Linked DNA regions of Homo sapiens: region 1 is linked to region 2. Evidence: promoter capture Hi-C in 16 types of primary human blood cells and fetal thymus (Javierre and others, 2016). All regions are on one chromosome and are shown on one strand. Each heading gives the region's core, a stretch centred on a gene start or on the middle of the fragment in contact. The rest is flanking DNA. Distances are from core to core; before and after follow the strand shown.

What was found. The method cuts DNA at HindIII sites, captures the fragments that hold promoters and counts their contacts. A CHiCAGO score of 5 or more calls a contact.
Region 1: a fragment that was not itself captured here is called in contact with the fragment with the promoter of TMEM190 in region 2 in 7 of 17 cell types (M0 macrophages, activated CD4 T cells, naive CD8 T cells and 4 more); the score reaches 9.6 in M0 macrophages.

The regions. Positions count from the first base shown.
Region 1 is chr19:55,169,013-55,173,336 of GRCh38, forward strand. It overlaps SYT5 (synaptotagmin 5), which reads right to left. Exons shown (of 9, transcript NM_003180.3): 9 at 2,184-4,324. Among named protein-coding and RNA genes, the nearest start is that of DNAAF3, 4.6 kb to the left of the region's middle. The HindIII fragment of the contact is 869 bases long and covers 1,575-2,443 here.
Region 2 is chr19:55,375,261-55,380,237 of GRCh38, forward strand. It overlaps TMEM190 (transmembrane protein 190), which reads left to right and starts at 1,566. Exons shown (of 5, transcript NM_139172.3): 1 at 1,566-1,651; 2 at 1,731-1,766; 3 at 2,333-2,458; 4 at 2,542-2,626; 5 at 2,715-2,986. The coding sequence starts at 1,594. The coding sequence ends at 2,943. It overlaps TMEM238 (transmembrane protein 238), which reads right to left. Exons shown (of 2, transcript NM_001190764.2): 2 at 3,984-4,107. RefSeq lists an enhancer at 4,035-4,535. The HindIII fragment of the contact is 5,299 bases long and covers 402-4,977 here.

The DNA.
Region 1 (4,324 bases), core at 759-3,258, 210 kb before region 2:
GTGCCCAGCTCCAGCGATTCTTTTTTATTTTTAGTAGAGACGGGGTTTCACCATGTTAGCCAGGCTGGTCTCGAACTCCTGACTTCAAGAGTTCCGCCGGCCTCAGCCTCCCAAAGTGCTGGAATTACCGGTGTGAGCCACTGCACCTGGCCCAGAGTGATCTTAAACATAAATCAAATAATGTCTCCCACCTCTTCAAATCCTCCAAAGTCTTCCCGCTGCACCTGGACACATTCCCCGCTCCTTAGCTTGGCTCCCTATGCCCTATGCAATCTGCAGTCATCCACCCCTGAAGCCACATCAGCCTCCTGGCTCCTTGGAGAACACACCAAGCCGTTTGAACCCCAGGGCCTTTGCAACTTGGGATTCTTTTGCCTTAAATTATCTTCCCCCTCATCTTTGTTTTCTATATATTTATTTTTGAGACAAAGTCTTGCTCTGTTATCCAGACTTGAGTTCAGTGGTGTGATCATAGCTCACTGCAGCCTCAACCTCTCAGGCTCAAGCAGTCCTCCCACCTCAGTCCCCTGAGTAGCTGGGACCACAGGCAAGTGCCGCCATGCCCGGATATTTATTTATTTATTTATGTAGAGAAAGGGTCTCACTAGTTGCCCAGGCTGTTATTTATTTACTTATTTGAGATGGAGTTTCACTCTTGTTGCCCAGGTTGGAGTGCAATGGCGCTATCTCGGCTCACTGCAACGTCCACCTGCCGGGTTCAAGCCATTCTCCTGCCTCAGCCTCCTGAGTAGCTGGGACTACAGGCATGTGCCATCACGCCCAGCTAATTTTGTATTTTTAGTAGAGACAGGGTTTCTCCGTGTTGGTCAGGCTGGTCTCAAACTCCCGACCTCAAGTGATCCGCCGGCCTTGGCCTCCCAAAATTCTGAGATTACAGGCGTGAGCCACTGCGCCCGGCTGTATTTATTTATTTATTTATTTAAGGCAGGGACTTGCTCTGTTGCCTAGGCTGGAGTACTCCAGCCTGAAACTCCTGGGCTCAATCGATCCTCCCACCTCTGCTCCCCAAGTAGCTAGAACTATAGCCACGTGCCAGCATACCTAGCTAACTTTACAAATTTTAAAAATAGAGAGGTTATCCAGGCTGGTGTCTAACCCTGGGCCCCAAGCAATCCTCCTGCCTCCCAAAGTGCTAGGATTAAGGCATGAGCCATCGTGCTTGGCCTTGTTTTCTTTTTAAATTGGTGTAAAACACACACACTATTAAGTTGATTGGGAATGACATTTAGTACACTTGCAATGCTGTGCAACCATCACCACTGTCTAATTCCAGAACTTTCTCATCACTCCAAAAGAAAACACGTACCCCATTTATCTCCCCATTTCTCTCTCCTCTGTCCCTGGCAACCACGAATCTACTTTCTGTCTCTATGTATTTGTCAGTGCAGGAGATTTCTTTTGGATGGAATACTGCACTATGCAGCCTTCTGTATCCGGCTTCCTTCACTTGGCATAATATTTTCAGGACTCATCTATGCTGAAGCATGAATCAATGCTTTCTTCTGTTTTTATGACCAAATAATATTCCACTGTTGTTCTCCCTAACCTTTGCAAGCTTCGTTCCTTCTTGTCATTCAAGTCATGGCCCAGACCGCACCTCCTCAGCAAGGCTGCCCCTGACCACCCTCCCTAAGTTATGTCAGCCTTTTTACGTTTTGGTCCCAGTGTGGACGGCCATTTGTAATGGTTTTATTCTTCTATCGCTCTGCTTTCTTGTTGAGACAGAGACCCAAGGACCCCATTGCCATCATCTAAATCAATCCCAGGATTTAGAGACAGGCTCTCTGGCTGTGTGATTCTGAGCATTTCACAGGAATTCTCTCTCTCTCTCTCTCTCTCTTTTTTTAGATGGAGTTTTGCTCTTGTTGTCCAGGCTGGAGTGCAATGGCGCGATCTCGACTCACTGCAACCTCCACCTCCTGGGTTCAAGCGAGTCTCCTGCCTCAGCCTCCCTAGTAGCTGGGATTACAGGTGCTTGCCACGACACCCAGTTAATTTTTGTATTTTTAGTAGAGACAGGGTTTCAGCATGTTGGCCCAGCTGGTCTTGAATTCCTGACCATAGGTGATCCGCCCACCTCAGCCTCCCAAAGTGCTGGGATTACAGGCGTGAGCCACTACGCCCAGCCCCAAATTTTCTAAAGCACAGTTTGGACTCATTTGTCAACTGGGAATAATGATCATGTTTATTTCATGAGTTTGCTGTGAGGATTATTATTGGCAGTAATAGTAGTAACATAAAGGGCTGTCTTCATAAAGACATGCTCTACAGCCACACACACACACACACACACACACACACACACACACACACTCACACACATGAAAAGTTACTGAATTCCTTTGGAGAAAAATTAAAAATCTCATGGATATTATAATCTGTGTAGCTGTTCTATTTTCACTTTCCCGATTGGCTACCAGGAAGCTTAGGAGCAAGTAAGTTTGTTTGCTGCCTCCTTTTTTGGTACGTGGGGGTAATTTTTGCCTCATTCTCCACTTAATCTGCTGCTCAGAGAGTTCTCTGGCCAAATCTTATAGGTCTTTGTTCACCACCCAAAATTCTGTATGGGATGAGATAAGGTAGAAGCCAATGGAACTATCATCTTTGCTAGAAACAGAGTAGGAGGCAGCATTCGTTGAAAGAACAATGAGGTCAGATGCGGCGGCTCATGTCTACAGTCCCAGCTACTCACACAGGAGGATTGCAGGAGTTTGAAACCAGCCTGTGCAACATAGCAAGACCCCATCTCTAAAAAAGAAAAGAAAAGAAAAGAAAAAATTAGCTAGGCATGGTTGCATGTGCCTGTGGTCCCAGCTACTCAGGAGTCTGAGGCAGGAGGATCCCCTGAGCCCAGGAGGTTGAGGCTGCAGTGAGCTATGATTGCCCCACCGCACTCCAGCCAGGGTACACAGAGAAACCCTGTCAAAAAAAGAAGAAAGAAGAGGCTGAGGCAGAAGAATCGCTTGAACCCGGGAGGCAGGGGTTGCGGTGAGCCGAGATTGCACCATTGCCCTCCATTCTGGGCAACAACAGCGAAACTCCGTCTCAAAATTAAAAAAAAGAAGAAGAGAAGAAAAGAAATAGAAAAGAAAAGAAAAGAAGAAGGGCCGGGCGCGGTGGCTCACGCCTGTAATCCTAGCACATTGGGAGGCCGAGGCGGGCGGATCACGAGGTCAGGAGATCGAGATCATCCTGGCTAACACGGTGAAATGCCGTCTCTACTAAAAATACAAAAAAATTAGCCGGGTGTGGTGGCGGGCGCCTGTAGTCCCAGCTGCTCGGGAGGCTGAGGCAGGAGAATGGCGTGAACCCGGGAGGAGGAGCTTGCAGTGAGCCGAAATCGTGCCACTGCACTCCAGCCTGGGCGACAAAGTGAGACTTCATCTCAAAAAAACAAAAACAAAAACAAAAAAACAAACAAACAAAAAAAAAACAAGAGAAAAAGAAAGAAAAGGAAAGACAGAAAGAAAACAAAAAGGAAAAAAGAAAAGAAAAAAGAAAGAGGTGAAGTTGAAATCATTGGCTTTCCTTGCTGAACTCCAACCTCTCTCGCAGGCTCTGGAGATTGTATTCCCTGGCTCCGCGCCTCTCCTTTGTTTTGATGGCAGTAAGTCGCTTGGGGGGTCAGGTCTGTGTTTGGATATTCTGGGGCCCCAGCACTCAACAGAAGACCTCAGGGAATATGGAATGGAAGGAAGAAAAAAAAGAGAGGGAGGGAGGGATGCAGAAATGGGTATGAAAATCGATGTGAGTCATGGGTGAGCAAGCGAGTGGATAAATTCATGGACAAGCAAGGGAGTTCTCGCGGACTCCTCACAGCCAGCGTGTGGCAGGAATTATTATTATCCCAACATTCTCCAGAGGAGGAAACCCAGGCTCAGAGTGGTGAGTGAGGAATGAACGGGTGAGAGTGTGAGGGAGTCCATGGGGTCAGGCCAGTCTCTCAGAGGCTTTCAGGACGAACAGCACTCACACCGCCCTGCGAGCGCCCATTCCTGGAAACGAGGTTTCCTCTTGGGTCCCAGCCCTTGCCCACCCCCATCAAGGAGCATGGGCCCAGGCCACCGGAGCTGCTGAATATTTATTTGGCCCCAGGAGCAGTGCAGGGATGGGCTGTGTTGGAAGAGAGAGGAGAGCAGACGAGGATGGCTGATTGTCAAAGCAGGGGGCAGGACCCGGGGGCAGGAGAAACCAGGCTGCCTTCCCTTCCCGGGGTCCCTGGGGCATCTGGGTGTGTCCGCGAGGGTCGGGGGAGTGTGCTGGAAAGTTGTCGTGATTGGCATCGTTGGGGGTGAGAAGACAG
Region 2 (4,977 bases), core at 316-2,815:
GAACCCCCAGCCCCTCCTCCCTCAGACCCAGGAGTCCAGGCCCCCAGCCCCTCCTCCCTCAGACCCAGGAGTCCAGGCTCTAGCCCCTCCTCCCTCAGACCCGGGAGTCCAGGCCCCCAGCCCCTCCTCCCTCAGACCCAGGAGTCCAGGCTCCAGCCCCTTCTCCCTCTAATGCAGGTGTCTGAGTTTACAACCCCCTTTTCCTTCAGATGCAGGACTTCTAGCCCAGAGACTGTCCCAGGGAGCTAAGACTCCCTCCTCACTGTGCTGCAAAGCTGAATGGATGAGTTGGGGTGCACTAGGGATTATGGTTCCAACCCAGCCCCCCATTCCGGTTTCCTCTTCTTGGAAGCCAAGTTTTCTCTCAGTCACTGGGGAGTGGTGGGGGGAATCAATGTGGAAGCTTCAGGATCTCCGTTTAGCCGACTCCCTCCCACCACTCCCTAACCTCTGTTCACAGATGGGGAAACAAATCCAGGAGGGAAATGTGGGCTCCCTGTCCAGGAGCCACCATTACAGTCTCCGAGCAGCTCTGGCCCACCAGGCCCTCAAACTCAGCAGGGGCCCACATGGCCTGTCCCCTTCCCTGTTTGTTTTTTTTTTCTTTTTTCTTTTTTTTTTTTGACACAGAGTCTCACTCCTTCACCCAGGCTAGAGTGCAGTGGCACGATCTCGACTCACTGTAACCTCCACTTTCTGGGTTCAAGCAACCTCCACCTCCTGGGTTCAAGCAATCCTCCTGCCTCAGCCTCCCGAGTAGCTGGGATTACAGGCAAGTAATCACCACGCCCAGCTGATTTTTGTATTTTTAGTAGGGACGGGGCTTCCCCATGTTGGCCAGTCTGGTCTCGAACTCCTGACCTCAGGTGACCCGCCTGCCTTGGCTTCCCAAAGTGCTGGGGTTATAGGCGTGAGCCACCGCGCCCAGCCCTATCACCTTCCCTGCTAAACATTCCCTAGACAGCAGGCCTGGCAGGGCTGAGATGAAAAGCCTTTCTCAAGACCCCTGGACCAGGAGACCCCCGGACTTAGGCTCCGGCCCCTTGTCTCATCCCCCTCCCAGGTCTTCTCATTGCGGGGGGGACTTTCCCTAACAATGGGGCTCAGTGAGGCCTCTGTGTCTCACAGCTCCCCTTCCCCTGGTTGTTAAGGCGAAAAACTCCCTAGCAACGGGGTTTCCTGAACCTTCGGGCCACCCGAATCCACCTTCTCAGGTATCAGTTTCCTTAGGAAAGAAACTCCCTAGCAAAGCCTCCCAGTTCCCCACCCCTCAGGGCGCCCCGGGTGATATGGAGACACGCCCCAGACTCCCACGCCCTTCCAGACTTCTCTTTCCCACCATAAGTGGCCAAAGAGGCTCTTCTAAACCTGAGACGCCCCCACTCTTCCACCAGGTCCCTAAAGAATCAACACCCTAGACCAGGCATGGCCAGGCTGGTGTGAAGCCCTTCCACGTCCGTAGCACACCCCTGACTCCCTAGCAACAGAACTCACAATCCTGGGGCCTGGCGGGCAGGCGGGCGGGGCCGGTTGCTGGGGTGATGTCCTGTAAGGCCTCTTCCCACAGTGGCCCCAGGGGTCTGGGGAGGTGACATGTTGGGCTGTGGGATCCCAGCGCTGGGCCTGCTCCTGCTGCTGCAGGGCTCGGCAGGTGAGGGGCTGGTGAGGCGGGGGAGCTGAGGAGGGACGCCCGGCTCCACACAGCCCTAACACTGCCCTTTCTCTCGCAGACGGAAATGGAATCCAGGGATTCTTCTACCCATGGAGTGAGCAGCCGCTGAAATACTGGGTCACCCAGGGAGGGGAGCCCAGATCAGACCCCTGAATCTGAGGGAGGAGGAGCTGGGGCCTGGACTCCTGGATCTGAGGGAGGACGGGGGGGTCTGGACTCCTGGGTCTGAGGGAGGAGGGGCTGGGGGCCTGGATCCCTGGATCTGAGGGAGGAGGGGCTGGGGTCCTGGATTCCTTGGTCTGAGGGAGGAGGGCTGGACCTGGACTCCTGGGTGTGAGGGAGGAGGGGCTGGGGCCTGGACTCCTGGGTCTGAGGGAGGAGGGGCTGGGCCTGGACTCCTGGGTCTGAAGGAGGGGGCTGGGGCCTGGACTCCTGGGTCTGAGGGAGGAGGGGCTGGGCCTGGACTCCTGGGTCTGAAGGAGGGGGCTGGGGCCTGGACTCCTGGGTCTGAGGGAGGAGGGGGTGGAGTCTGGACCCCTGGGGCCCTGCACAGAGTAAGCACCAGGAAGGCAGCCTGGGAGCATGGCCTTGGAATCTCGTGTATGAGGCCTTCGGAGCGGAGCGCTGTGATGAAGCAAGCCACTGGTGGTTGGTCCCCAGGCTGTGAGGGTGACATATGGGACCGGGAGAGCTGTGGGGGCCAGGCGGCCATCGATAGCCCCAACCTCTGCCTGCGTCTCCGGTGCTGCTACCGCAATGGGGTCTGCTACCACCAGCGTCCAGACGGTGAGGGCTCCTGGCCCCAGGTCCCTGGGGCGTGGGTCTGGCGGTCGGGAGCCCCGGGTCTTAACCCTGCCTCCCTTGTCCAGAAAACGTGCGGAGGAAGCACATGTGGGCGCTGGTCTGGACGTGCAGCGGCCTCCTCCTCCTGAGCTGCAGCATCTGCTTGTTCTGGCGAGTGGGCCTGGGATAGGGCGGGCGCCTGCACCCCCAGGGGGAGGGTCCGGCGGAGGGCGGGGGCTGAGCCGTCCGCTCCCTGCAGGTGGGCCAAGCGCCGGGACGTGCTGCATATGCCCGGTTTCCTGGCGGGTCCGTGTGACATGTCCAAGTCCGTCTCGCTGCTCTCCAAGCACCGAGGGACCAAGAAGACGCCGTCCACGGGCAGCGTGCCAGTCGCCCTGTCCAAAGAGTCCAGGGATGTGGAGGGAGGCACCGAGGGGGAAGGGACGGAGGAGGGTGAGGAGACAGAGGGCGAGGAAGAGGAGGATTAGGGGAGTCCCCGGGGGACTGCTCAATACAGATACGGTGGACGGACGTGTGTTCTCTTCTCTGAAAGCCGTGGGGAGCAGGGGGCATGGTGCACACAGAGGCTGGGGTAACAGGTGGGGGCTGGAGGGGGCTTGGGGATGGAGGCTTAGGGGGCGCCAGGCTGTGGTCGTGGGGGTGTGAGCTGAGGGGGAGCCTGGAATGAGAGAGATCTGGGAGGTAAGTGGGGAGGATCCGAGCTGAGGGGGATCTGCGCTCATGGGGGTGTCCTGGGCTGTGATCATGGGGACCCTGGACTGAGGGGATAGAGGTGTACGAGTGCTGGAGTGCGGGTCTGAAATGAGGGAGTTGGGGGTATGTGGGGGTGGTGGGGTCTGAGGGGTGCCTGGACTGGGTGGGGAGAGGGGCACGCCACAGCTGTGGAAACGTGCCCCTCAGTCTCCTACATGGAGTGCCAGTGACTGACAGTGCCCCCCGCCCCCACCCCAGATGCACCTAGATTACCATGGGTTGCTCTCCACCAATAACTGAGCATGGCGAGGCAAGGGGTGGGGGTTCCGGGTACAGGTGCCTTCTCGAAGGGCAGGGGCCTCCCTCATGGACGATGACTTCAGCTCCCAGCTCCCCAGGGGCCAGTGGCAATTTTCTTGGAGGTGCGGTACAGTCTAAGACTAGTCCTACCCATCCCTCCCTCCCTCTCCCTGCACCAAGCTACCCTACAAAAGTGTTTCCCCAAGACATATCTTGCAAGTCCAGTTTGTCTCTGTGTCTGCTTCTCAGTGAACCCAAACTCACACAGGGATGTTGGGGCTTAGAGTGGAGGGTCTGGGCTAAGATCCTTATCCCCCGCCCCCTCTCTGGCCCCCTCTGAGAAGGGGCCAGCATAAGGCTAGGCTCCTATATCCCCAGGGCTCCTGGTCTCCCCAGGGCAGGGGCAGCCTCACCTCAGGTGTGGCCAGGCCCACCTGGGTGCTAGAAGGAAGCAAGCCACCTCGTCTCCATTCCCACCCCAGCAGGGTCCCTCTCCCAGACAGACATGCAGCACTAAGGCAAATCTGCTTTTTATCCAAGTGAGGAGGGAGGGGGTACAGGGAGCGTCCGTCTGGCCACGGATGTAGGGGCAGCTGCACATCTCAGTCTGGTCCTGACAGCTGGAGCCAAGGGGTTGTCTGCAGGAGGGAGGGTGGAGTGAGCGACTGCTCAGGAACCCCTCCCATCCCTGTTCCGGGCTCTCTGCCTGCGGGGGCAGAGGCAGGGAGCCCCATCCGCCTGCCCTTGCCGCTCACATGGACTCACACACTTGCTCCTTCATCCCTGCATGCCCCCATTTGCTGAGTGTGTGCATGCGTGTGTACCTTTAACGCCCTGAAATCCAAGGGTAGAGGCCAGGGAATGCGAGCCAGGGAGAGGCAGAAAGGGGGAGACGAAGACATGCAGAAGGGGAAAGGCAGAAGCACAGGGACAAAGAAAGAGACCTGGGAGACAGAGACACAGAGACAAAGAGTGAGAGAGAGGGAGACAGGCAGACACAGTGAAGACAGAAGGAGGCCGGGCATCGTGGTCCTCATCTCAGACCCTCACCCCAGCATTTTGGCTGCAGGCAGGAGGATCACTTGAGCCCAGGAGTTTGACACCAGCCTGGGTAACATAGGAAGACCCCGTCTCTGGTACCTGTAGTCCCAGTTCCTTGGGAGGCTGAGGTGGGAGGATTGCTTGAGCCCAGGAGGTGGAGGCTGCAGTGAGCTGTGATTGCACCACTGCTCTCCAGCCTGAACAACAGAGTGATGGGGGTGGCTCTGCCCGGCTACTCATGGTGGTCTCGGAGGTTGTGGGGGTACCAGAGCCAGAACCTGTGGGTCCCTCTGCTAAAATTCAGGTTCTCTGTCTTTCATGCGCTGGAAGCTGCTCACTCTCCCCAGTAAACAAGAGTCCTGGGTTTGAACAGGCCCATTTTCCTCTAAGTGGGGCCTACGTTCGAGTCAGTGTGGTCTGAGTCTTTGGTGGAGGCTCCAAGAGTGGAGGCCTGTGCAGCTGTGTTA